Linked DNA regions of Homo sapiens: region 2 is linked to region 1. Evidence: promoter capture Hi-C in 16 types of primary human blood cells and fetal thymus (Javierre and others, 2016). All regions are on one chromosome and are shown on one strand. The core of a region is centred on a gene start or on the middle of the fragment in contact, and the rest is flanking DNA. Distances in the headings are between cores, read along the strand shown.

Region 1 (2,856 bases), core at 223-2,722:
GGACAGGGGTCCCAGCAGCCCTCCCTCCCTGAGCAGCAGGGTGCCCGTGCTGCACCACTTCTGTCTAGGAATAGGACATTCTGACACTTTCCTGCCTCTTCCGAGGTCTAGCACTTACTCTATGCCTGCCTGGGAAGGTGGCAAGCTGGCCTGAGGAACAGACTCTTCCATTTTTTAGGGAGCTCAAGGCCACAGATGCTCTGAGATCTGGAGTCCAGAGACAGGAGCGGAGGCTTCTCCTGGTGACCACTCTGCTTAAAAACTTCATCAGATCCGTAGTTTCAGAGCCCCCCTGAACCCCATCCCTTACCTCTACCAGTTGCAGGTGGGTCTCTGGGGTGGGGCTGCCCTCCCCACCAGCACCCCAAGGGCTAAAAGGTTGAGGGGAGAACACCATCATTTGTACAGGGGGATCCTGGAAGATGAGGCCTGAGAAAGCCCTGCGGGGCCCCTCACCTTCTCCCTAGCTGTGGCCAAGAGTGTCTGGCCTTGCCTGCCTCAGGACCAGCCCAAAGTGGAGGTGAGAGGTGAGCCCCAGCCCCCAGGGGAAGGGTGATGGTGGTCTTGGTCTCAGCATGGTTCTGGTAGAGGTGGGTTATTTTGAAGATGATGAACCTTAAGCCTCTTTCTGATCTTGCTTTAAATAAATACTTCTGAACAACAGCAACAACAGAATAGTGTTGATAGGAAAGCCCTCCACTCCACCAGAACCACGCGGCCTTCTCGTCCTCCCCTCCTCCACTTCCTTCCTAAGTCACTGCTCCATGAGCTCTTCCACAGGAGATTTACAAAATAGAACACAAACAATCCAGTTCCCGCCTCTCACTCTGAACTCCTCCCAAGACTCGTGGGGTGCGGCAGCCCCTGGGAACACCCAGCCCTTCAAGGTCAAACACAGCCCCCGCCCCTCACTCTGGGGTACCCTGCCAGAATAAGCCCCGACAGCCATGTGGAGCAGAGCCTTCTTTTTTGTAAGTGGAAGTTCCAGGCTGGCTTTTCAAATCCCCTTTTAACCTCAGTGCTGTATTTCAAAATTCATTCCAGTTTTCCTGTAGTAATTAACAAAAATAAATATTTTAATTTCAATTAAAGTGAGGGTCTCGGAGAAGAAGCAGGAACTGAGTTTCCTGAGAGGCCCCGCTGAGGCTTTGTTGATATTTCTTCCTGCGACCTCTGCTCGGACCCTGGGAGCTCACAGGCCGTATCGCAGCTCTTATCTTTGGGGACCAGTTAAAGCATAACTGCGCCAGGCACAGAGTTGTCCTTTCAAATGTGCCGGCAGTGGGACGGAGACCCATGCGTCAAGTCTCCTCTAAGTTCACATGGGATTCTCTCCTTGTCCCAAAGCTGTCTCTGACTTAAAACCCTCCAACTGATTACCTGAATTCCAGAATATGTCCTGTGCTCTCTGCCCTTTCCCACGCCTTTGGTGAAGACCGGTGTTCTGAGGAAACAGACACTGTGTAGAAATGGCTCAGGTCCTTTAAAGCCCTGGTGTGAGGAGTGGGGAAGGGCTGGGCCAGAGGTCAGCTGGATTTGTTAGATTGACAGAGTGACGCGGACTTCCCCAGAGGCACGGGACCAAGGTGCATGCTCACGCTGTCTCATGCTCTCACACATAATGTGTGTGTGTGTGTGTGTGTATATATATATACACATATACATATATATATATACACACATATGCATATATATAAAACCCCAAGCAGCCTCTGGCTTAGCAGGTGCATTTCCCAGCAGGGCAATTAAAGCCATGGTCCCAGTAGTGGTCTTGGGGTCTCAGGGTATTTGGTCTGTGCAGCCACATGCTTCAGTCTCTGGACCCCAGGTCATCTAACGAGGTGGTCGTGTGGGGACTGGGATAGAAAAGGTGTCTGCACGGACGTGTGTGAAAGGGCTGGCACATCGCCAGTGCTCAGCACTGTCAGCTGCTATCACCAGTCATTCAATCATTCATTCATTCAGTTGTTCATTCTTCAACAGGCCGTTTTAAAAATGTGCCCAGTATACCAAAATCTCCGCTAAGCATTTAAAGAGGCAGAATGAAAGTTAGCAGTGGTGGTGAAACGAAGCTGGGAATGTGCTCTGAGGGCCTCCTTGTGGGCTTAATGAATATGTAGAAACCACGCATTTTAAATAGAGAGGGAGAAAGGGAGAGGTTCCTGGTCCTCTGCATGGGGACTTGTGTGTGGCTCTTTACTGTAGGCCTGTGCCACTCCTGCTCAACAGCTACCACAGAGGACGCCTTCAACAAATGTGAAGAACGAACAAAAGGTACAAATGTGAAGAACGAACAGGGTAGAAAGAAAGGAGAAAGCAAGGGTGAGGGTGAGAAATCAAGGGACAGAGAAGAGAGAAGAGGAGATAGCCTGGGAGTTCACACAGCCAAGAAGGTAGACACTCAGTTGAACCAGCAAGAGGCTGAGCCTAACTCTCCCTTTCGAATGGGCAGGAGTTCATGATATTTAATAAACAGAGGCCTTGCTCTGTAAGAGACAGGGTACCAGGCAGAGAGCAAGTCAGCATCGCAGGAGTCAAACGAGGCAGACAGCGGGGGCAGGGAGCTTGCCTCTGAAGGAGACCCAGGCTGCCAGAGTAGCAGGGAGTCTGGGCCAGTCCTCTTTTGGGAAGCGCTTCCTCGGCTTCTGCCCCCCCTCTCCTCTCCCTTTCCACCCACCATCCTGACATAATACTTCCTAATCTGGAAGTGTTGTCCAGAGAAGAACCTGCTCATTTCCTCTTAAGTAGGCAGGGAAGCACTAACGTCCAGCAGCATCGGAAACCCGTAGGAGCGCTCTCGGCAGTGCAGGGTGAGGGGACAGTCCATGTAGTCATGAGACGTGGGTGTCAGGCAAG
Region 2 (2,856 bases), core at 251-2,750, 190 kb before region 1:
CCATGTTTTTAAGAGTACATTTCTTTTCAGCGTTTTCCCTCTCTGTAAAGGGGTCTTGTTTTCAAAGTTGTCATTAACTCCATGTACAATTTATGTGATGACTTTATACAAAATGTCATCTTAATTATAAATGTCACAATAGCAATAACAAGGTTGGGCGTGGTGGCTCATGCCTGTAATCCCAGCACTTTGGGAGGCCGAGGCAGGCAGATCACCTAAGGTCAGGAGTTCGAGACCAGTCTGGCCAATGCGGTGAAATCCTGTTTCTACTAAAAGTATAAAAATTAGCTGGGCATGATGGTGGGCGCCTGTAATCCCAGCTACTTGGGAGGCTGAGGCAGGAGAATTGCTTGAATCCAGGAGGTGAAGGTTGCAGTGAGCTGAGATTGCGCCATTGCACTACAGCCTGGACGACAAGAGCAAAACTCTATCTAAAAAAAAAAATAAAAAAAAAAATAACAATGACTACCATCTGTGGAATATTTTCATGTCATAGCTGCTTTATATGCACCAACTCTAATCCACCCGATCCAATGCAGGAAGTGAAATTCTTTCTCATTGTAGTGACTACAGTAGTCCTATGTGAAATATGTAAGTGTATTTCCAGGGCCTCCACAGGTTCACTTGTAAATTTAGACTAGCCTTAAAAATGCCTTATTTACCCACAAAGACAGCACTTCCAAGCTGAAAGAGCAACAACAGTTGCTGGTGTGCAATCTCATTTTTAAAAAGAGAGAATTAGGGCCAAAATAGATTACGCAATTTGCTCAAAGCCACACAGTGACCCAAGGTCTTGGGGTCAGCCTGCCCTAAGCCTGTTGATTGCTCTCTAGGGCTTTCTACAACTTCCACCACCTTTCAATCAGTGCCACTACAATTAGCTTTCAGTAGGGGAGGCTGCTTGGAGCTTTCTTGCCCCTCATACCTCTTCCCAGTTCTTGCTAGGGAGCTCTCTGGAAAGCTATAACAGAAATATAGTATACATTATGTAAATATTCCTTTTCTGTCTTGAATTCATACATAGTTCCTGCCAGAGAGATGCAAATTTGTCCTAAAACTCTCTTGGGCCCTCTTTGGGGCTGAAGTCTTTGTTTTCTGAAGAGAAAGACATTTTCTGTAATTTTACCACACAATGAGAAGAGCATTTTAATAACAAGAGCAAAATCATCTCAAGCTCGCATTTCTCCCACATTCTTCTGTCTCTCCAGTAGGCCCTGGAGTGGAGTGATCTGAAGCAGGGTGGCATTCTTGGGGTAGAGGATGTAATCTACAATGATAAAAAAGGACTCCTGTGTTAGAGATACTATAACAAAGAGGCAAGAAACACAATCACTCCTTTTTTTTTTTTTTTTTTTTTTGAGATGGAGTCTCGCTCTGTCGCCCAGGCTGGAGTGCAGTGGCGCTATCTCAGCTCCCTGCAAGCTCTGCCTCCCAGGTTCAAGCCATTCTCCTGCCTCAGCCTCCCAAGTAGCTGGGACTACAGGCACCTGCCACCACGCCCAGCTAATTTTTTGTATTTTTAGTAGAGACGGGGTTTCACCGTGTAAGCCAGGATGGTCTCGACCTCCTGACCTCGGAACCACAATCACTCTTGATTCTCTTTAAAGACAAAATCATTTTAGAATTTGCTTCCCTTTTACCCACCATCAAACTCTCTTGTGGGAGGGGAAAGTTAATTTCAGTTGAAACAGTGACATCCCTGGAAGATAAGTTGCTATAAAAACACTCTTCTTCTGTTCCTTCTCCTGTGTGCCCAGTCAAGCTGAAGGTCAAATACATGGAAAAGATCTCCAAGTTTCTAAATCAGTGCTTACCAAGTAGCCATGCACTTGACAGGAGAGATGAGACACTTGCATATTTTTCCACCCCATTTCCTTTTACATCAAACACAATGCTCCTAAGCTGGGGTGTCTGTCCTGGAGAATGCAAAGATAGAGATCCTCATTTGGGTGACGAGGGAGGAACACCTTATCGCATGGGAGAAGGGGCAGTCATCAGTGGAGGGACAGAAAACCACATCAGATAGAGAGCTCGTCAGTCCATTTGCCCAGGGCTCTCCCAGGCCTACAGTGAATCCCGTACACCCTAGGGCCCTACAGATTTTGGCCACCTAATTTACAAAGGTAACCTGTGTCATAATTGCTTAGGATTGCACAGCAACACCTCACTTGCCCAGAGGCCACTTACCTAGAACCTCACTTGTCCAGAACTTAACCAAGATCTCAGGAACAAAACTGGTCTCTGAGAAGTTTAATGAGTGCACTAGTACACAGCTCAGGCTCTGAAGTTTGGTTTACGACACTCACAGGAGAGACCTCATCCAAAGCCAATGTCATCCTTATGTAATTCTAACCAGCACAATTGTTAGATTTCTCAGCCACAAATAGATTAGAAATCTCAAGTGTTTAAAAGGTGATGATTGACTTGCTCACCTGGCAGATGATGAAAAGGAAAGAAAAACATTATAAGTTAGTGAATGCATAGCCACCCAGATGTAGAATCAATGTAGAGGCGAATACACCTGCACCTCCGTAGCTTCTCGGGGGTCTCCACAGATAGCTCCATCTATCAATGAATGCCAAGAAGGACGACTGCCCTTGGTTCCATCATGCCCTTTAGATAGCAGCTTATACATCAAATTTTCAGAAAAACCTTCCTCCATGGCTTCGCTTGAAGCATCCTGAGGCCCTCATTCTGTTTCTCAGCCCCTGCTGTTTCCTTCCCAGTGCCTATCACAGTTCACAGTCATGTTCTTCATGACTCTCCTGTGTTCCACACTTGCCTACCTCCCGTGCATGTGGCACGTGGCCGTGTCCTTCTTGTTCATGGTTGGCTGCCCATCCGAGCTCTGTGCTT

What was found. The method cuts DNA at HindIII sites, captures the fragments that hold promoters and counts their contacts. A CHiCAGO score of 5 or more calls a contact.
Region 2: a fragment that was not itself captured here is called in contact with the fragment with the promoter of EGFR-AS1 in region 1 in 1 of 17 cell types (endothelial precursors); the score reaches 9.1 in endothelial precursors.

What each region holds. Positions count from the first base shown.
Region 1 is chr7:55,187,477-55,190,332 of GRCh38, forward strand. It overlaps EGFR-AS1 (EGFR antisense RNA 1), which reads right to left and starts at 1,473. Exons shown (of 2, transcript NR_047551.1): 1 at 1,381-1,473. The region is part of intron 20 of EGFR (epidermal growth factor receptor); the gene reads left to right. The HindIII fragment of the contact is 13,947 bases long and covers 1-2,856 here.
Region 2 is chr7:54,992,542-54,995,397 of GRCh38, forward strand. It overlaps LOC105375284 (a long non-coding RNA gene), which reads right to left. Exons shown (of 4, transcript XR_007060329.1): 2 at 2,188-2,856; 3 at 1,815-1,916; 4 at 1,118-1,267. Among named protein-coding and RNA genes, the nearest start is that of EGFR, 25 kb to the right of the region's middle. The HindIII fragment of the contact is 3,455 bases long and covers 1-2,856 here.